2 separate regions of the Homo sapiens genome follow, and region 1 is linked to region 2. The links are contacts of gene promoters, found by promoter capture Hi-C in blood cells and fetal thymus (Javierre and others, 2016). All regions are on one chromosome and are shown on one strand. Each heading gives the region's core, a stretch centred on a gene start or on the middle of the fragment in contact. The rest is flanking DNA. Distances are from core to core; before and after follow the strand shown.

The links. Contacts are between HindIII fragments. The CHiCAGO score rates a contact against its expected background, and 5 or more counts as called.
Region 1: a contact is called between a fragment that was not itself captured here and the fragment with the promoter of CARMIL2 in region 2, in 4 of 17 cell types (endothelial precursors, M2 macrophages, M1 macrophages and 1 more). The highest score is 7.3, in endothelial precursors.

What each region holds. Positions count from the first base shown.
Region 1 is chr16:67,589,683-67,594,818 of GRCh38, reverse strand. The region is part of intron 2 of CTCF (CCCTC-binding factor); the gene reads right to left. Among named protein-coding and RNA genes, the nearest start is that of CTCF, 30 kb to the right of the region's middle. The HindIII fragment of the contact is 1,795 bases long and covers 2,729-4,523 here.
Region 2 is chr16:67,641,476-67,646,772 of GRCh38, reverse strand. It overlaps CARMIL2 (capping protein regulator and myosin 1 linker 2), which reads right to left and starts at 1,629. Exons shown (of 38, transcript NM_001013838.3): 1 at 1,487-1,629; 2 at 1,142-1,233; 3 at 996-1,049; 4 at 693-755; 5 at 463-587; 6 at 256-347; 7 at 1-59. The coding sequence starts at 1,526. RefSeq lists a silencer at 1,546-1,935. The HindIII fragment of the contact is 10,344 bases long and covers 1-5,297 here.

The sequences.
Region 1 (5,136 bases), core at 2,377-4,876, 54 kb after region 2:
TATGCCTTTTGTTTCTGTAGTCTCTACAGCAATGGATACAAAACAGTGTTAGACAAACAGGAATTCTCACTGACTTTGTCAGATGAAACAGGTATAGATGGTTCCTGCACAGGACAAGAGCAGGAAGGGAACATGGAAAAACAAAACACTGTTTATATGCTAAGTGAAAGCCTAAGTATACGAATTTACCTTTATTGCTCTCTTTGCATCACTATTTTTTTAGTGATGCGAAGTTTTTTTACGCATCACTATTTTTTTAGTGATGCAAAGTTTAGAAACTTTGAAAGACAAAGTTTCATTATGTTGCCCAGGCTGTTCTCGAACCCCTGGGCTCAAGGGATCCTCCCACTTCATCCCCCACAAAATGCTGAGAATATAGGCATGAGCCACTGCAACTAGCCTGTGTCAATTCTTACACCTTTTTTTTTTTTTTTTGAGACAGGGTCCCACCCTGTCGCTCAGGCTGGAGTGCAGTGGCACAATCAAGGCTCACTACAGCCTTGACATCCTGGGTTCAAGTGATCCTCCTACCTCAGCCTCCCAAGTAGCTGGGACTACAAGCATGTGCCACCATACTTGGTTCATTTTATTTTACAGAGATGGGATCTCACTGTATTGCCTAGGCTGGTCTCCTAAGCTCAAGTGGCCTCCCAAAGTGCTGGGATTACAGGCATAAACCACCATGCTCAGCCTGTGTCACTTCTTAATAGAGAAAAATAAAAATTCCCAAAAACACAATTACAGGTTAGATTTTTTAAAATCCTGCCATGTAAAAATGGAAGCTAATTGTGAATACACTAATTTTTGAAGATATTAAGGTTTAGTAATTTATCACCTATGATTATGACTACATAGCAAATATGTCAGACAATTTCCAAAGGAAAACAACCAAAACAACCTTTTATACTCACCACTGCAGAGTTTAGTCAGTTAAGTAGACTGGTTATTATACTAGGAATAATCCATGTGTACTGAGAATAAGACAGTAGAAGAGAATGATTTCCAGCAGTCTATTTTATAACTAAACCCACAACTTTTTAATATACTGCTTACTATCCATTATAAGGGGCAACTGATTGCTAAAAACCCCAACTTATTTCCTGGGGAGATCAGAAGTCTATCTGCATTCTCTTGGTAAGAAATACATTAGCAGCTCTAAGACCCCATGAACTTTCACAAGCCACAGAAATTCTGAAAGTCAACATGAAGGGTACCTAACAAATGGCCTAACAGAGGTTGATACGAACCCTCAGACATCATAAGAAGGCAGAGAACGCACAGCCATAAAAAAGAATGAAATAATGTCCTTTACAGCAACACAGATGCAGCTGGAGGTCATTATCCTAAGCGAATTAAGGCAGGAACAGAAAACCAAGTATCTCATGTTCTCACTTACAAGTGGAAGCTACACACTGGGTACACATGGACATAAACATAACAATAGGCCTTAGGGATTAGGAGGGGGAGGGAGAAAACGGGGTAAGGGCTGCAAAACTAATCATTGGGTACTATGCTCATTACCTGGGTGATGAGCAACAATTGTACCCCCAAACCTCATAATCACACAATATACCCATGTACACAAAAAAACTTGGACATGTACCCCCGAATCTAAAATAAAAGTTGAAATTGTAAAAAATTTTAAGAGAACAGAAGATACCTTGCACCTTTCTCTTTATATGTATAAAATATATATTAAAAACCATATATTAAAATATAAAAAAGATATACAAATATATAAATATAAAATATATATTAAACATTTATACATATATATATAAATTTTTTTTTTCCAGATGGAGTTTCACTCTGTCACCCAGGCTGGAATGCAGTGGCGCGATCTCGGCTCACTGCAACCCCTGCCTCCAGGTTCAACCGATTCTCCTGCCTCAGCCTCCTAAGTAGCTGGGACTACAGGCACATGCCACTGTGCCCCGCTAATTTTTGTATTTTTAGTAGAGACGGGGTTTCACCATGTTGGCCAGGCTGGTCTCAAACTCCTGAGCTCAAGTGATCCACCCACCTCGGCCTCCCAAAGTGCTGAGATTACTGACGTTGAGCCAGTCACCAACGCCTGGCCTCTGTAAGTATCTTTTTTTGATGTTGTTGTTTTTGAGACGGAGTCTCACTCTGTCACCCAGGCTGCAGTGCAGTGGCACGATCTTGGCTCACTGCGACTTCCGCCTCCTGGGCTCAAATAATTCTAATGTCTCAGCCTCCCGAGTGGCTGGGACTACAGGCGCATGCCACCATGCCGGCTAATTTTTATATTTTTAGTAGAGACAGGGTTTCACCATACTGGTCAGGATGGTCTCAAACTTCTGAGCTCTGGTGATCCTCCCACCTCAGCCTCCTAAATTACTGGGATTACAGGCATGAGCCACTGTGCCTGGCCTTATTTATTTTTTTAGACAGATTCTTGCTCTGCCACCCAGGCTGGAGCGCAGTGGCACAATCCCGGCCACTGCAACCTCTGCCTCCAGGGTTCAAGCAATTCTCCTGCCTCAGCCTCCTGAGCAGCTGGGATCACAGGCGTACACCACTATGCCCAGCAAATTTTTGTATTTTTAGTAGAGACAGGGTTTCACTATGTTGGCCAGGCTGGTCTCAAACTCCTGACCTCAGGTGATGTGCCCGCCTCATCCTCCCAAAGTGCTGGGTTTACAGGTGTGAGCCACTGCGTCCAGTCGATAGATCTTTACATTAGAAAAATGTTGACTGAAAAGCTTAGTCTGGTATTCTCACTATACAGAATGTTAAATGACATTAGGACAAGGAGGGGAAAAAAAGCAATTATAAGTCATCAGGTCGGGCACAGTGGCTCACACATATAATCCCAGTACTTGGGGAGGCAGAGCCAAGAGAATCGTTTGAGCCCAGGAGTTCAAGACCAGCCTGAGCAACATAGTGAGACCTTGTCTCCATTAAAAATTAAAAAAAAAATTAGCTAGGTATGATGGCATCCATCTGTAGTCCCAGCTACTCGGGACTGAGGCGGGAGGATCGCCTGAGCCCAGGCTGCAGTAAGCTATCATCACACCACTGCATTCCAGTCTGAGTGACAGCGCAAGACTCTGTGCCCTTACTGCCCCCCCCCAAAAAAAGTAATCAGTTTTTCCTGAGGATGAAAGGAAAAGCTAAGTAACTTTTACTAGATGCAGGACACTAGCCAAAACGAATAAAAGTTATTAACTCTTTTAGAGTAAAAGCTAGGTTTAAAAGTTAAACAAAATAACCATTTTACTCTGCTATTCCTGAAAACATATACGCCATCATCTTATCTGAGAGCTTAAAATACATCAAAGCAAAGTATCAGTGAACTAGTACCAGGAAAGTTGTAGACTACAATAAAGAATGAGGAGGAGTTGAATTGGGAGAATAACTTGGGCTGAGAAGCAGAAAAATAATAGTGACCATTTCTTTCACAGTGACTGGGAACGGAAGCAGCCTTTATCTGAAAAAGCACTCATCTATTTAATCACAACTGTACCTCTCACTTCTCTGACATTAATTTTCATTTATTTTTTGAGACAGAGTCTCGCTCTGTCACCCAGGCTGGAGTGCAGTGGTGAGATCTTGGCTCACTGCAATCTCTGCCTCCTGTGTTCAAGCAATTCTCAGCCTCAGCCTCCTGAGTAGCTGGGATTACAGGCACGCATCACCACGACTAGCTAATTTTTGTATTTTTCGTAGAGATGGGGTTTCATCATGTTGGCTAGGCTAGTCTCAAACTCCTGACCTCAAGTGATCTGCCCGCCTCGGCCTCCCAAAGTGCTGGGATTACGGTGGCTCACGCCTGTAATCACAGCATTTGTGTGAGCCACCCAGTCCAGCATTTTTTTTTTTTTTTTTTTTTTTGAGACAGAGTCTCACTCTGTCATCCAGGCTGGAGTGCAATGGTGCCATCTCAGCTTACTGCAACCTCCACCTCCCGGGTTCAAGCGATTCTCCCGCCTCAGCCTCCCAAGTAGCTGGGATTGATTACAGGCACCAAACATCATGTCCGGCTAATATTTGTATTTTTAGTAGAGACAGGGTTTCGCCATGTTGGCCACGCTGGGCTTGAGCTTCTGACCTCAGCTGATCCACCCTCCTCAGCCTCCCAAAGTGCTAGGATTACAGGTGTGAGCCATCACACCTGGCCGATCACCGTGCTCGGCCAATTTTTAAAAGAACAGTTAGGGCCGGGCACGGTGGCTCACGCCTGTAATCCCAGCACTTTGGGAGGCCGAGGTGGGCAGATCACAAGGTCAGGAGATCGAGACCATCCTGGCTAACACAGTGAAACCCTGTCTCTACTAAAAAAATAAAAATAAAAAATTATAAAATAACAGGGCTTTTTGTATGTGTGTGTGTAGAAATAATTAAAAGGGAAATGAAAATGTTTCTTCTAAGTTAAAAAAAAAGTTAAGAGCATTCTAGTATTTTGTTAACAATCTCCCCTCCCATTTGTTAATATTAAAGGGTATGGTCAAAACAAAACAATTATTCTAACAGCTACTTGAAGAAAGCCCACTGAAGCTTTGAATCTAGGAAATACGTACTAATAAAATATTTGTAATGGCAACAGTGAAACTAGTATGGGAGGAGGGGAAGGAGTTCTTTTGCTACAAAGAATAATAAAGGCTAGACAATAATTCTTTCGCCAAAAGGTGGCTGACGCTGCTGTAGAAAGGAACTCTCTTCTTTAAAAAAAAAAAAAAAAGTTCTAACTGTTCTTTTTCTTTTTTTGAGACGGAGTTTCGCTCTTGTTGACCAGTCTGGAGTGCAATGGCGCCATCTTGGCTCACTGCAACGGCCGCCTCCTGCGTTCAAGTGATTCTCCTGTCTCAGCCTCCTGAGTAGCTGGGACTACAAATGCCCACCATCATGCCAGGCTAATTTTTGTATTTTTAGTAGAGATAGGGTTTCACCATGTTGGCCAAGCTGGTCTCAAACTCCTGACCTTAGGTGATCCAGCCATCTTGGTCTCCCCAAATGCCGGTATTACAGGTGTGAGCCACCGCGTCCAGGCTCTTTTTCAAGTTAATGGAAGAAATCGGGTATTAGGTGTTGAAGCGTCATTTGGGGCTGGAGGCAGGGAAGGGAGAGAGAGTACAAGCATATGTACTAGGGGTAGTCTTCAATCAGTACTGT
Region 2 (5,297 bases), core at 380-2,879:
CTCTCGGAAAGGGAAGCCATTGTAGTCACACAGAGCCTCGTATGTCTCCAAGAAGCCACCTGGGGAGGGGATAGGGGTGCGATGTGGAAAAGGAGAGAGACAAAACATCAGCGATGGAGGAAGACCAGACCCACAGACTAGGTGGTGGCTGGGACCTGAATGGCTCTGTTCAGTTTGGGGCCCCCCCAGCTTGCGGGTCTGGGGAGGCAGAGGTGGGGCAGGCTGGAAGGCCTGTGGCTCTGCCTTCACCCTTACCACAGGGGCTGCAGGGGTCAGTGGACTCCGAGGGGCTGCTTCTCTCCAGCCGAGCCAGCATGGAGGCTGGTGTGGGCCTCCGGAATAGCTTCCTGGTAGGGGGTTAAGGAGAAGGGGGCAAAGGACTTCCAGCCTCTGGGATGGGAAGCAGCCCTTCTCATGCACTCCCTCCTCCCCTGCCAGCCCCTCGAATTTGCCAGGCCTCACCCAAGGGTCGAGCGAGGGAAGACCTTCTTGATGGCTGCAGCCACGTGCTGGGCCAGCTGTTCCAGGGCGGCCACACCAGGAAACTCCAGGACCAGCTCACGCAGGGACTCCAGCTCAAAGGTGACCTAGGGAAGGGGCACTACTAGGCCTCGGCTCCACACATGGGCGCAGGTGATGGTGGTAGCATGAAGACCAGGCTGCAGGCCCAGGTAGGGTACTAGGTGTCTCACCTGAGGGGGTGTCTCCTGCAGCGCCATGGCCTGGACCTCCAGGTAGCTGAACGTGCAGTCCACCTAGAAAGGGCCTAGATCAGCTGGGACCAAGCCCCCAGCCCCGCCCTCATGGAAGTCCAGTCCTTTGGGCAGCCTGGGGCAGAGCCAGATCTGCCTGGACTCCCCTCCTGTCGGCTGCCCAGAGCCCAGTGCTGGTGCAAAGTCAGGGCCCACAAGGCCAAGAAGGACCACTCTGCAGATGCAGCCCCCTGCCAAGGTAGCTGCTGGCGGGCGGGGGTGTGGCCAGGCCCTGGGACTCACCCTCAGCGGGAGGCAGGTGGTGTGCAGCAGGTAGGCTCTCCATCGTAGCAGTGCCTGGGGAAAGACAGTCTGATATCCTGGGCAGAGCAAGAGGCTCTTTCTGTGGGGCCACAGCCGCCTCCCCGGCTCTGTCCCCTGCCCCATACCAGGACATGGTTTTGCACAGCACCCTCCCCGGGTAGCCAGGTTTTCAGCAGCAGCTCCACCTCTTTGGGCCACAGGAACCTGGTGATCTCGCCTGTGGAAGGGCAGCCTGCTGGGTGACTTCAGTCCTTGCACAGAAGCCACTGGTGCCCACAGTCTGTGCCAGGCTGGGGCCCTGGGGCTTATCTGCGGCCAGCGAGGAAGGAGGGGAGAGGATCTGGGGCGCCTGCCCTCCTGGGGAGCAGGGAGGACCTCTGACCAGGCCCTCTGGGGCGCTGGGTGGGCCTCTGATTTTGGGGCTGCACTACTTCCTCCCGGCCAAGAAGGCAGGAAGGGCCAGCGCTTACCTCGGAGCTCACAGGAGATGCCGTCGGGGGTCTGGGCCATGGGCCGGGCGGGCCGGGGAGGCCCAACGAGCTCCGGCGGGAAACAGCAGAGGACGAGCGCGCACACAGGAAGCCTGGGGCCCAGACCCGCACGGCAGCCACCTGCTCCTCCGGCGGCGGAAGGTGCGCGCCGCTTCCTGCCAGGCCGCCCCCGGCCCGGCCCCTCCCCGCCCCGGCCTCGCGGCTCGAGAGCTTGCCCGGGAGCGGGGTTGTGGGAGGGGGGCCGAGTCCCACCTGCCCGCCCGCCCCGTCGCCCAGGAGCTTCTCCGCCAGGGTAGACGTCGGGGTGGGCAGTGGCGTGGCCGGGAGGGTCGCGGGTGTGGCGGGCCTCCAGCGGGTCCTTGCCCCCGGCTTCCACCCCGCCCCGCAGTCCCTGCCGCGAACACCAGGGGACGCTGCCTGCCTGGGGATCCCCGCGGCCCACCGGGGCTGGTCCCCTCCAAAGCCCAGGCTGCGGAGGTGGACGAGGCGCCTGGCAGAAGGGGGACTGTTCAGCAAGGAGCGCCCGAATTCTGCCAACACCGGAGGTCCTGCCCGTTGCTCCGAACCTGGAGTCCGTGACCCTGTTAGGGATCCAAGAGATTTTGAATGGGTGGGAAAAAATGTCAGATGGGGCCAGGCGCGGTGGCTCACGCCTGTAATCCCAGCACTTTGGAAGGCCGAGGAAGGAGGAACGCTTGAGCCAAAGAGTTCGAGACCAAGCTGGGCAACATAGGGAGACCCTGTCTCTGCAAAATAATTTACAAAATTAGACGGCGTGATGGCGTGTGTCTGTAATCCTAGCTACTTGGGAGGCTGAGGTGGGAGGATCACTTGAGCTTGGGAGGCAGAGTTTGCAGTGAGCGGAGATCGCACCACTGTACTCCAGCCTGGGTGACAAAGCCAGGTCCTGTCTAAAAAAAAAAAAAAAAAACAGCCTGATGGGTCCAGACGCCCTTCCTTGCCGCAGAGGTGGGGTCAGGGCCGAAGGTGAGGGTGTACCCGGAGCCTTCGGGGGGAAGCCTGGGGCTAAGGTGAGCCCTGAACCCCAAGCACTTCATAGAGGGCCGGAGTGAGTCGTCCAGGTACATGAGGGTCTTCTTGTGTCTGCCTTCTCCCCAGGCTGGAGAGAGTTTGGGAGGGGGCAGCCAGAGAGAGAGAAATAAGCCAGTGTCTCCAGGGCTGAGAGGGGTCAGACAGTCATAGGGTGGGGCCTGGTAGCCTGTTGCCCTCTCAAAGACCAGGACCTAGATTCTGGAAAGTTCACAGGAAGAGACTGCATTTTTTTTCTTCTATTACAATCTAAACTCCACTTAAGCGGTAAGGAACAGCAGTCTACCCTGCCCATAGCTCAGCAAGGTGGAGGTGAAATGACAGCTAAGGGTGACAAGGAGGAGTCAGCTGCAGAAGATGCAGCACAGAGAGTTCCTGCTGCCTCCCCGATTGAAGAGACATACTTGGTTTGTTTGTTGGTTTTGAGATAGAGTCTTGCTCTGTGGTCCAGGCTGGAGTGCAGTGGCACAATCTTGGCTCACTGCAGCCTCCGCCTCCCAGGTTCCAGCAATTCTCCTGCCTCAGTCTCCCGAGTAGCTGGGATTACAGGTGCCCACCACCATGCCTGGGCTAATTATTATTATTATTATTATCATTATTATTATTATTATTTTAGACAGAGCTTCGCTCTTGTTGCCCAGGCTGGAGTGCAGTAGGGCGATCTTGGTTCACTGCAGCCTCCGCCTCCCAGGTTCCAGCAATTCTCCTGCCTCAGTCTCCCGAGTAGCTGGGATTACAGGTGCCCACCACCATGCCTGGGCTAATTATTATTATTATTATTATCATTATTATTATTATTATTTTAGACAGAGCTTCGCTCTTGTTGCCCAGGCTGGAGTGCAGTAGGGCGATCTTGGTTCACTGCAACCTCTGCCTCCTGGGTTCAAGCAATTCTTCTGCCTCAGCCTCCCAAGTAGCTGGGATTACAGGCATGTGCCACCACACCCAGGGAATTTTTATGTTTTTAGTAGAGACGGGGTTTCACCATGTTTGTCAGGCTGGTCTCCAACTCCTGACCTCAGGTGATCTGCCCACCTCGGCCTCCCAAAGTGCTGGGATTACAGGCGTGAGACACCATGCCTGGCCACGAAGAGACATAATTTGGATTAAGATCTAAGGCTCTAAGACCACACAGAACCCTCAAACTGCTTGTAGGGTGACAATTCAGTAGGTCTCACACAGTACTGCCAAGGAACCAAGAATGCAGGTTCTGGCCAGGTGTAGTGGCTCATGCCTATAATCCCAGCATTTTGGGAGGCCGAGGTGGATCGCCTGAGCTCAGGAGTTCGAGACCAACCTGGCCAACATGGTGAAACCTTGTCTCTACTAAAATACAAAAAGTTAGCCAAGCGTGGTGGTGGGCACCTGTAGTCCCAGCTACTGGGGAGGCTGAGGCATGAGCATTGCTTGAGCCCAGGAGGCAGAGGTTGCAGTGAACCAAGATCTCACCACTGTACTCCAGCCTGGGCGACAGAGCAAGACTCCGTCTCAAAAAAAAAAAAAAGCAGGTTCTGCAGGCACACTGCCTAGATTTTGACACTGAACACATTGCTTAGCCTTTCTGGTCTTCCAGTTTTGTTTGTAAGCCGGAGCTATTAACTAACCTCAAGCCTTGCTCAAAGGATTCAATGTTTATTAAGGGAAGTGCCCGCAACAGTGCCTGGCACTCAGATAACACTCACATTTGCCAAGTCTACCATGACAACCCAGGGATTCCAAAACAGAATGGCAGAAAATCCACCTCACTGGGATTTTTCTGTTTAGAATGACAAGGAGGAGAGAGAAATGAGAGTGACTGCCAAAAGGGCTGGAGCCATGCCCAGGTGGAGGGCCTCTGGAGGCTGCAGCGATGCCAGTGGGGCCAGTCCCTGTGTGTGTGAGCACATGGGGGCAGGCAGGGACAACTAAGAGATCTGGACAGGCTTGCAGGGCTAGCCACGTGGCTGATGGTGGTCAGGGAGGTAGTAACACAGCAAACCTGATCTCAGAGACCAAGTGAACACATGGGACTCGGTTCTTACAAGTGACAGTGACTCAGTGAGAAGCTGTCAGCTTGTTCAAGCCCGTCTGTGTTCTGGATGGCATGCCACTCCATGGGCATTCAGGAAATGTCAAAGCTCCCGAGAGCATCAGCCTCGCCTGCTCTGGGTAGCACAGGCTGAGGGCGAGACTTGCCTCCCAGGTGGGCCGGGCTATGCCCCCTTGGTGCTGCCATAAGGCTCACCACAGATGATTTTCAAAGACCAGGTCCTGACAAGTCAGAGAAGGGTTCAGGTACTTGCTGAGCTGGGCAGCAATAGGGTGATGCCAGCCTAGGGGTGAAAGGGGCAAAGGTTCTTTACTTCTGTGGCTTAACACTGAGGGAGCTGCATGCAGGTTCAGGAACTTCCCTGTCAACAGAAGCAGTAACACAACTGGCTTCTGCTGCTGAATGTTTTATAATTAAGGGACAGACAGGATGCATCCTGGGCTATGCAGCAGGAGGATCCCTTTTCAGCCTTAACTCCATCAGGATGTCAATTCTCTTGCCCCCTCTCCAGCTAAAACAAATCCACTTTTAAACTTTTTTTTTTTGAGACGGAGTCTCGCTGTCACCCAGGCTGGAGTGCAGTGGCGCAATCTTGGCTCACTGCAACCTCCGCCTCCCGGGTTCAAGCAATTCTCCTGCCTCAGCCTCCCAAGTAGCTGGGAGGCTACTTTTAAACTTTTAAACTTTCTAACAGAGGGCCGGGCATGGTGG